Regions from separate parts of the Homo sapiens genome. Here regions 1 and 2 are each linked to region 3. Evidence: promoter capture Hi-C in 16 types of primary human blood cells and fetal thymus (Javierre and others, 2016). All regions are on one chromosome and are shown on one strand. Each heading gives the region's core, a stretch centred on a gene start or on the middle of the fragment in contact. The rest is flanking DNA. Distances are from core to core; before and after follow the strand shown.

What was found. The method cuts DNA at HindIII sites, captures the fragments that hold promoters and counts their contacts. A CHiCAGO score of 5 or more calls a contact.
Region 1: a fragment that was not itself captured here is called in contact with the fragment with the promoter of SPACA7 in region 3 in 1 of 17 cell types (endothelial precursors); the score reaches 6.3 in endothelial precursors.
Region 2: a fragment that was not itself captured here is called in contact with the fragment with the promoter of SPACA7 in region 3 in 1 of 17 cell types (endothelial precursors); the score reaches 6.1 in endothelial precursors.

The regions. Positions count from the first base shown.
Region 1 is chr13:111,488,284-111,491,926 of GRCh38, reverse strand. No RefSeq gene overlaps it. Among named protein-coding and RNA genes, the nearest start is that of LINC02337, 110 kb to the left of the region's middle. The HindIII fragment of the contact is 5,857 bases long and covers 1-3,643 here.
Region 2 is chr13:111,507,447-111,510,949 of GRCh38, reverse strand. No RefSeq gene overlaps it. Among named protein-coding and RNA genes, the nearest start is that of LINC02337, 87 kb to the left of the region's middle. The HindIII fragment of the contact is 1,989 bases long and covers 866-2,854 here.
Region 3 is chr13:112,374,427-112,377,968 of GRCh38, reverse strand. SPACA7 (sperm acrosome associated 7) reads right to left here and starts at 1,614. Exons shown (of 7, transcript NM_145248.5): 1 at 1,490-1,614. The coding sequence starts at 1,583. It overlaps LOC105370373 (a long non-coding RNA gene), which reads left to right and starts at 1,691. Exons shown (of 3, transcript XR_944295.3): 1 at 1,691-1,845. RefSeq lists an enhancer at 1-162. The HindIII fragment of the contact is 13,511 bases long and covers 1-3,542 here.

The DNA of each region.
Region 1 (3,643 bases), core at 8-2,507, 890 kb after region 3:
GCTTTTGCAAGCAAGATGTGAGCAGCTTATTTTCCCGAAGCCCAGAGCTATCGCAGCCCTGTGACTCCAGGAGTGATGACTATGTCCACTCTCTAGGTTTTATATGACATAGAAACTTTGGCAAAAGGGGCCAGGTGCGGTGGCTCACACCTGTAATCCTAGCATTTTGGAAGGCCGAAGCGGGCTAATCACTTGAGGTCAGGAGTTCGAAACCAGCCTGGCCAACATGGTGAAACTCCATCTCTACTAAAAATATAAAAGAAAAGTAGCCAGGCATGGTGGTAGGCTCCTGTAATCCCAACCATTCAGGAGGCTGACGCAGGAGAATCGCTTGAACCCAGGAGGCAGAGGTTGCAGTGAACCGAGATCGTGCCATTGCACTTCAGCCTGGGCAACAAGAGTGAAACTCCATCACAAAAAAAAAAAAAAAAAGAGAGAGAAAGAAAGACAGAGAGAGAGAGATGGGGAGAGAGATGGGGAGAGGGAGAAAGGGAGGGAGGGAAACTTTGGCAAAACGCACCCTTCGGCTGAAAACATGAGAGAAGCAAAAAGAATAAATGAATGAGTCATTCACAAGGCCCGACTCTCCTGCTGGAGTAGAGTAATGTGCACCTGCTCATAGCTCTCAAGCCCAGAGCCCGGGGTGTCTGCTGTGTGCCGGATGCCGGGCTAAGCTGGGGCCTTCTGCCGTCAGCTTCTGAGGCACTCCCAGCCCCAAGCTGGATGGAGCAGGTATCTCGGCAGGACGTGACCCACATTCCAGCTCCTTCCCAGGGGACAGAGAAGGGAGAAATGAATGCAGCTGGTGTGAGGGAAGGGAGAGGGCAGTGAGGAAGGCTTTCCCAGAGAAACCAGGGATATACTCAGGAAGGGGGCCCAGAGGGAAAAGTTGCTTCGCAGCACCGTGCCATGAGCAAGCCAGGAAGTCACACCACAGACTGGAGAAAGCTGGTTCTAATAAACACTGCCTGAACCCAGATCCACAGAATGGAGCCAGCCTTACACCTTAGTCCACAGCCTAGCGTGTCTTTAGGATGACACCTGTCAGGTGTGTTCACAGTCCCTGTTTAATAGAGTGACCGCTGCCATCATGACACTCGGCAGGGACAGTCCTGTTTTCTCGCCGTGCATGTGAGTGAACTGCTCAGCAGGCCATGGTGTACCTGCAAGTCAGGTAAGCGCTGAAAACCCACTTGCTGGCCAAGGTGCTTTTTGATTCCTAGAAAGAGGAGACTTACCAGGTGTGTCCTTGAGAGAACAAGAGAAAAAAAGGAAATTTTATTTTCTCTTTTGTTATAGACTTATAGGATTCTTTATTTATATGTAATTTTATGAGGACTCCCTGTCAAAATTCCACCAGGAGAATTTCAGGGCACCCCTTGCCATACCTGCTGGGACATTGCAAATCTCTGATCTGCCTCAGGCTCACCTGGCTGGTTCCCTCAGTTACACGTCTATGTGCGGCCTGCTCTTATCCGGATAAAAGAGTTCTCCATTCCCACCCTCCCAAATGCTCAGACTTTACTTTCTAGAAAGTAGTTTTATTGAGATAGCATTGACATCTAAAAACCGTATATATTTAAGATGTACAACCTGATGTTTTGATGCACCTATCCATATGAAATGACACTACATTCCAGCTAATTAACATGTCTATCACCTCTGTGTAGTTATCCTGTTTGTGTCCACGCTGAGAAGATTTAAGATCTTTTTTTTTTTTTTTTTTGAGATGAAGTCTCACTCTGTCACCCAGGCTGGAGTGCAGGGGAGGAATCTTGGCTCACTGCAACTTCTGCCTCCTGGGTTCTAGCGATTCTCCCGCCTCAGCCTCTCAAGGAGCTGGGATTACAGGCACCCACTACCACACCCAGCCAAATTTTTGTATTTTTAGTAGAGATGGGGTTTCATAATGTTGGCCAGGCTGGTCTTGAACTCCTGGCCTCAAGTTATCCTCCCACCTTGGCCTCCCAAAGTGCTGGGATTAAGAGCTATCCTTTTAGCAAATTTCAAGTGTACACTACAAATTTCTTAAGGTTTGCTCTCACTGGCCCACACAATGCAATAATTCTGCTCAGACCACATCATCGATTCCATTCAATCTTTGCCCCCTCCAAAAAAAAAAAGGAAAATTGAGTTTCCCAATGGAGCTTGAGCAGTAATTCCAACCTAAGAAGACATCACCAATATCTATCTACAGGTGGCCCTTTGTAGCTGGAAGCAAGCCTCACGGAACATTCTTTCTCAGATTAACAATAAAAAGGCCCTTCTGTACAGGAGGCACACAGGTTTTCCCCAGCGGGGAGCAGCCCTGGTATTTCACTTTCTTCCTGTTGTGACTGATGCCTTGAGCACCCCCGGTTGCTCAGCCCTAACTGTTGCACGTGGCCAACTTCCAGGACCTTCTCCACTTCCAGGACCTTCTCTGGTGAGGCGTGGCCTATGAGCGGGGGGCTGGCGGTGAGGCCCATGCTCACCCTCGGCAGCCCCTTGGGCAGGTGCTTGCTGCCTGGAGGCTGCACTGAGCCCTCCTCCTCCTCCTCTCCCCTGGCCTCCTTGCTCTTTCACAGCTCACCTAGGGCAGATGCAAGAAACAGAGGGTCTCCAATGCCACACTTGTGCTGCACAAAGTTTGTCCTGGCTGCCAGCTGATACCAGCCACACACATTTCACAGAAGGGATGTTTTGGCTGCCCCAGTAACTCAGAAATGCCAGAAAGAGCAGCAAGTGCAGCCATGGGCAGTCGTCTCCTCCTTTCTCCTGACACTTAGTGAAGGGACAGAGACATGTCTGCTTCTTCTCTTCCCTCATGGCCTGTATGGCAGGAGAAATGCACCCAGAGTCCTTTTGTCCTTTAAACCAAGTCACCCATGGCCCACCGTGAGTCTCTTTCCAGGCCAGCTGCTTGGTGAGGGCCCAGGTGCCCCTGGGGCAGCTGAGGACTAGCCGGGTTAGGGGAGGGCTGAGCACAGGACAAACACCCCCCATGCTATAGGAAAAGAAGCTCGGGGCTCTGGCCCACACCTGGTAGCAGCTGGCTGTCAACAGAAACTCGTGAGCTCTGGGAGGTCCACCAAAGCCCAGCCCTGGAGTTGACCTCAGCATATCCAGGGAGGGTTTCCCCCCACAGGTTATGCAGAGAGAGCGAGAACCACTTCACATGCAGAGTGAGGAAAGGGGCCGCTGCGGGCCAGGCGGGAGGCTTCCTGAGTCCCCACCCTGCCCTCGTGTGCAGAGGAAGCTGTATTTCTGCATCCTTATCACATCTTTGCACAGGAATGGTTAGAAAGCTAGAGCAATGGCCACTGAGCTTCAGCGTGCATTCGAACACCTGGGAAGCGTGTTAGAACATGGAGAGCTGTGCCCAGCCCACCTGCTGATGCTGCTGCCTGGGGACCTCACTTGCAGACCAGTGCCCTCAAGAAGCGGCTGTGTTTCCTTCCATGCAAAGATGTGAAGGGACACAAATGCACAGCCCAGGAGAGAAAGCCGGAGGAGCTGAGGGGTTTTACTCTGAAGAAGACTTGAAATGGACAGGGTAGCTGCCTTCAAATGCCTGAAGACGTGCTGTTATCGAGTCAGGATCCAGTGTTTCTGAGCTGGGGCCAAGATCAACAGTCAGGGGACTACAGGGCGATGGAGCCCT
Region 2 (3,503 bases), core at 611-3,110, 870 kb after region 3:
TGGGAAAGCAGCAGTCCAGGCCAGAAGAAACAAGCACATTCAACTCATTTCTCGCATTATGGCACTCCCACTCCACCAGCCAGAGCTAGTCCCAGGATCAAGCCCAAATCCAGCCATCTAGATACCGGTGGACTCCTCCTGGAATGCTGGAAGACAGGGCAAGTTCCGTGGCAGAGGGAGGGCATGGGAAGCAGGAACAAGCCAGTCTACCACCATGGACAACATGCCTGGTGCCCTCCCACGGGTCCCTGGGGTCCCTGGAGCCCAGATCTGGGCCTCTCTCTCCTTGGACAGGAGCGCAAGCCAGCACTTCAGAGGCCATTGCCTGCGTCTTCCTTAATTTTCACAGCACAACGTATGCTGTCACCAGGTGAGGGGTTCCTCAGACCTGTGGCAGATCACAGCTGAGGTCTTGCTCCCAGGAGTGTCTGGCACACCCAGTAGAGGCTCAACAAATCCTTGATTGGGTGAACGGATGAACAGAGAAAAGAACTCTAACATCACCATGCCATGTCTTCTTCCAAGCACGCACGAAGGGCTAGATTCAGTGTGATTCAAATGCCTCTTGGCTAATATGACATAAAACCCTCTGAGGGCCTCCCAGATCCACAGCAGATATGTCACTAAAAATTCCACCCGAAGTCTGACTGTAGCAACTACTTTGGCTTCTAAGCAGCAAATTTTTTAAATGCTCTCTGAATATAATTATTTTCCTCTGACATCACCCAGCATCCCTCCACACAGCACACACCCCTTAGTTTTCATTCGCCTTACAGAGTCACCCAGCTCCTGGGTTTTCCTCCCCGCTGAGATGAACAATGAGCGGGGCTTTTTTCTTTATTATTTCAAATGTTTTTCACAAGCTTGATTTAAAAAGGGAAAATTCCCCACCATATTTTCGGTCTGATTATCAGATGATGATGGACAATAGATTGATAAGAGTCACTCAAGGAGATACAGGCTCTTGTGTATAACAGCTACTCCAATTATCAGGCACTACTAAACTATTATTGATCCTGTTCACATTGGGTGATAACTGAGCATTTTCCACTTCTTTAAAGTGCTGTTAACTAGAAACTCCCATCATTGACAAAGCGGCAGACTTTTCCCTCAACATAGCTCAATACTGTAAATAGCACCCACTGAAAGTGCAGAGTGCTTTAATCCCATTGAAACAAACAACTGCCCAGCACAAACACACAGACATTCTAGTTGAGAGACAGGACTAGCTGGATTTCCTAGGCCAACTAAGAATTCCTAAGCCTAGCTGGGGAAGGTGACTGCACCCACCTTTAAACAGGGGCTTGTAACTCAGCTCACTAACATACCAATTAGGCTAAAAGCAGGAGGTAAAGAAATAGTCAAATCATCTGTCGCCTGAGAGCACAGGGGGAGGGACAATGATCAGGATATAAACCCAGGCATTCAAGCCGGATCGGGCAGCATCCTTTGGGTCCCTTCCCGTTGTACGGGAGCTCTGTTTCCACTCTACTAAATCTTGCAACTGCTCACTCTTCTGGTCTGTGTTTGTTCTGGCTCAAGTTGAGCTTTCACTTGCCGTCTACCACTGCTGATCGCCGCCGTCACAGGCCCGCCTCTAACTTCCATCCCTCTGGATCCAGCAGAGTGTCCACTGAGCTTCTGACCCAGCTAGACTTTGCCGCTCCGGATCGGCTAGAGGCTCGCCATTGTTCCTGCATGGCTAAGTGCCCGGATTCGTCCTAATCGAGCTGAACACCTGTCACTGGGTTCCACGGTTCTCTTCCATGACCCACGGCTTCTGATAGAGCTATAACACTACTGCATGGCCCAACGTTCCATTCCTTGGAGTCTGTGAGGCCAAGAACCCCAGGTCAGAGAACAAAAGGCTTGCCGCCATCTTGGGAGCGGCCCGCCGCCATCTTGGGAGCTCTAAGAACAAAGACCCACCGGTAACATAATCTTTAAATGGCTTATTGCAAAACCAGTGCCCAAGGATGTCATGTAATATGTCACCTTAGCGACCACAGATAGACACACTGAAGGAAGGCGCAACTCACTCCATTTGCTTTCAGTGGTTTAAAGATAGAGATGTGGGTGGGAGGGAGTAGCCAGAGGGATGGTCGTCAACTGTCAATGGCGGGTTTCTTACCTTTCGCAATGTCTGGCCAGCTTCGGGGCAGCAGATGCTGTTTTTGTATGAGATTTTGGTAGGAGGTGGGACTCGACTCTGTAGGCAGGACTCAGACACCGGACCCAACTGAAGACTAGATAAAACAGGGAAGGTGTGGAAGCAGTTTTCCATCAGACACGCCCCCAGTGCACCTGTCAGTTTACTGTTGCCACTGGGCGTTACCCCCCGCTTTCCGCGGCAGACTCAATGAACCAGAAGTTACTACCTTTTCCTAGAAATTTCTGCATAAACTGCCACTTAATCTGCATGTAATTAAAAGTAGGTATAAATATGACAACAAAACCACCTTAAGCAGCAACTCTCAGCCTATGGGGTAGCCCAGCTCCGCGGGGGCCGTCACAGAGCTGTAACACCTCCAGAGCCGTGGCACTGTGGCTTCAGAAAAGGTGTTCTCTTCTACCACTGGCTCACCCTTGCATTCTTTCCTGGGCAAAGCAAAGCCCCCCCCGCCCCACCTCCCGGCTAAGCCCTGCTGTGAGGCTCACCCGCCCTGCATCCGGGTCACAGTATTTGCAGGAGGACGGGGGCCTCCGGGCAAGTGCTGGTCACATAAATATTTCTGTTAGTCTGGGTCAAAAAGCCATGATCCCAAAAGATGCTGATGTGTGGCTGATGTGGTTCTCTCCTGGGATCTGGTTTGGCTGGTGACGAATAGATGTTATTCTCTTGATGGACCAAGCTTTTGTTGTGGGTCGGGGCAAACCAAGAACATAAAATGAGCAAAATTGACAAATAAGGAATTCAGCCCCCGAAGGTGCAGTGAATCTCTTGATACCATCAGTAGTTAACCAGAGACCTGAGCACCGAGGCTGGGGGGCAGGTCAAATGACTGGGGAAGTCAATGAAAAGTGGTTTCCGTTATTTATTTTGCCATATTTTTTCCCATTGTGAATAATGTCACCTTGTATTGTATGAAAATAAAAGCACAGAATTTCCTCAAACAAAGGCTGCTGGTGGTCTTTCCAGGAGGAGGGATCCACGCTGTGGAGCCTATGCCCACATTCACTCACCCAGCCACCAGCACCCCCATTCACTCACCCAGCCACCAGCACCCCCGTTCACTCACCCAGCCACCAGCACCCCCGTTCACTCACCCAGCCACCAGCACCCCCGTTCACTCACCCAGCCACCAGCACCCCCGTTCACTCACCCAGCCACCAGCACCCCCGTTCACTCACCCAGCCACCAGCACCCCCGTTCACTCACCCAGCCACCAGCACCCCCGTTCACTCACCCAGCCACCAGCACCCCCGTTCACTCACCCAGCCACCAGCATGGGGTTGTTCATGGTTTCAGCATCTGCAGAAAGGGGCTGTGCTCAGGGAGATGA
Region 3 (3,542 bases), core at 365-2,864:
ACCTTGAGCCCAAAATCCAGAAATCTTCTCAACAGACTGCCCTCTGGATTCGGAAACTGTGTTTCCAACTATAAATCTTTGTTTTTCTTCTCTTTTTCGTAGACATTCCCCTCATTAAATTCCCGACTACTTGTACCATCCAGCACACATCCTCCACCAGATGAAACATGGACTTATCTTGTTCAAAGAGAAAAGGAATGTCTCTTCTTTCTTGAACAAGAGGAGGGAATGAGAAAGCCTCGCTCCTTGACTTACCTCATGCCAGGCTCCTCTGAGTCTTCTCTTTGACTAGGCCTTGACCCTAGCTTCTGCTTTTGTCTGCTTTTCCCCATGTTTAGTAGGAATCCTGTGAAGTCTTTTAGTGGAAATCCCCTAGTCTTGGCCTGGTCACCCTTGATATCTGATCAAATTCCTCACCCTCCATCTTTGATTATTTTATTGCCTTGGCTTCCTTTCAGGTCTGGCCTCCTGTTTGGCCGAACACAATATACACAATAATTGAACTAGAGGGTGAATACATGGAGGTTCATGATATTCTTCCAAGTTAGAAATTTTCCATAATAAAAAGTTAAAATAAGTAACATATGCAACTCTCTCATGGATGTCTAGATTTTAAAAGGTCTTCAAAGATAGCAGACCTTTGTGTCCTGTTGCAAGGATAATCAATTTTTATTAAACTTATGCAAACAATTGTATGGTCCTGAAAATCATAATATCCAAATTCTAGAGTAATCAGGTGGGACAAAAAATATAAATGCTTCATTTTTGTTTATAAAAGCCCTCTTGGCCTTTGCTGAATCAGTTTAGCAAAGAATTCTCCTACCTTTTAGCAATGTTCATCCACTGACCCACCCTGATCCTTGGCTGCAAATCTCCACTTTCCCTGTATTTGGAGTTGAGCCCACTCTCCACTATTATGAGACACCATGGTAGTAGCCCCCTTTGAATAAAGGCTGCCTGCCCATCTTTAGCAAGCATCACAAATATTTTTTAACGGTATGAGCTGAGATAAAGGCTTTTGGTAATTATGTTAGTCTGATTATGACATTGTAGATAATGCTTTTATCTCTTCGCAAGAAAATGTTTTACATGAGGTGGTAAGGCATCTGGGATGGTGCTAAAATACTCCCCAAACAAGAAAAGTGTGTGTATGTGGTGTGGAGTGTGTATGTGTGTGTGTGTAGAAAAAAACAAAATATGCACAATAATTGAACCTGAGGGTGAATACACGAAGGTTCATGATATTCTTCCCAGTTAGAAATTTTCCATAATAAAAAGTTAAAATAAGTAACATTTGCAACTTTCCTATGGACATCTAGATTTTAAAAAGTCTTCAAAGATAGAAAGACTTTTCAGCTACATTCATTCCCCAAGGAATAAATGGTAAATTCATGTAGGTTGGGAATAAGAGGAACCCATGGGAGAAGAGGCCGCCGCTCCCCACCTGGTTCAGTTCTCTTTCTGCTGAGACATCCCTGTGGGGCCCTACCTGGAATCACGGTTCTCGGCCGGAGCTCAGTTTCTTGCCAACAGCACAGCAGGAGGACAAAGCAGAGGGTCCCGTCTCCTTGGCTCACTGCCATGCTCCCTCCAGCTGAGGGAGAAGGACGTTCTGAAGGTTGACAGTTTCCCATCCTTGGTCTCCAGGACACTGTGGAATGTCAGGACCTGTGACATCACAACCAGGAAGGGAGCTGGGGTCCTGCCCTGGTGGGGAGGTCATGTCCAGGGACCTGTGACATCAGGACCAGGAAGGGAGCTGGCATCTTGCCAGGGGCGGGGGGCAGGGTTTCTGTCCAGAGTCTGTGACTGGGAAGCAGGGAGGAGGCTCACTGGGGTCTTAAGGTAACAGAGATCCTCTCCACTCTTTCTTATTGCCTGTTCTGGTGACTTCCTCTGTCCTGAGCACCCTGAGGACTCAAGGGGTAGATACTAATCAGGACTTAAGGGCCAGTGGCCAAAAGCCAACAAAATCTGCTCCCATGGAAAGAGGCGTATTTGAAGGATGCTGGAGAGGTGGTTGAATTACAGAGCAAGTGCCAGAACCGACAGATCCAGAGGGTCTAATCACCTCTTAAAGGTCCCTTGAAGAACAGAGCCTTGAAGAACAGAGGCCCGTGGCCCCATGTCCCCTCCCACCCTCCCCCACCCTCAAAGTTCCAGGATCATGAAGAACAGGAGACAGATGACCCAGGTTTCAGCCTCCTTTCCCCCACACCTTCTTTCTCAGCATCAGCCCCAATCTTTCCCTGGCAGTGAGACTTTAATCACGAGAGGAGAACATGGCTGCATTTCCATGTTATCATCCTCCCAGCTCTATCTCCTAGACTTTCTAGAGCTTTCTCCATCCGTGCAGTGACAAAACCCCAAAGGAGTCACTCTGGTTGGCTCCCCTGGATCCTATCTCACCCCTGGACTGACTCCTACATCCAGGGCTCAGAGTGGGGCAGCTGGTCTAGACTCGGCCGGTGGTGGGGTCCCAGGTGAACAGCCCTCAGATCCCAGCTCCATGGTGGAGAGGGCTGGTGTGTTTGTCTGTTCCCACACTGCTATATAGAACTTCCCTGAGACTGGGTAATTTATAAAGAAAAGAGATTTAATTGACTCACAGTTCTGCATGGCTGGGGAGGCCTCAGGAAACTTACAATCATGACGGAAGGGGAAGCAGGCACCTTCTTCACAAGGCGGCAGGAGAGAGAGTACATGAAGGAGGAGCTGTTAAACACTTATAAAACCATCAGCTCTAGTGAGAACTCACTTATCATGAGAACAGCATGCAGGAATCCACTCCCATGATCAGATCGCCTCCCACCAAGTCCCTCCCTCAACACGTGGGATTATGAGGATTATAATTCAAGATGATGCTTGGGTGAGGACACAGAGCCAAACCATATCACTGGGGCCCTGGACGCACAAGACTAACAATGCCCCCGAGGTCTGGTCAGGACCCCAAGGATGGCTGACCCACCATGGGTCTCTGGCTCTTTAATTTTTATTGCTTGTATGGGAACCCACAGCACATTTTTGCTCAGGTTTTCCTTTTGATAGATGCAGTGGTAGCCAATCTACCTCAAGGTGTGGGGAGTATATTTCAGATTTTCAGCGTGTCCATAAAGGCACACTAAGCATGGTTGACATTTACAGAAACCCAGTGGGTTCCAAGTCCCACTCTGAGTTAATGAATGGTCCAAGTGAGATGCTTGCTTCTATAACCCAGGCTCTTGCTACTCAGAATGTCATTTTGGGGCCAGCAGCATGGGCCTAAGAGGCTGAATGTACAAACGGACAGCAGCCAGAGCTCCCATGACAGCAGAACCCTGCACTGCTGCCTGTCGAACGACACCCACTGCACCAAGGAGGGATGTCTGGCTAAGGCAGGCCAGGGACTTCCACCTCAAGGCGGAGGATGAGGAATTTGATCAGGGCTGGGGGCGAGGCCTCGTTGAGAAGAGGGGTCAGAGGAGCCTCGCTGATTTGGTCGAGGAAGGAGTCATTCTCAAGGCTGCCCGAAGCTCGGTGACTTGATACAGCCCATGTGTGAT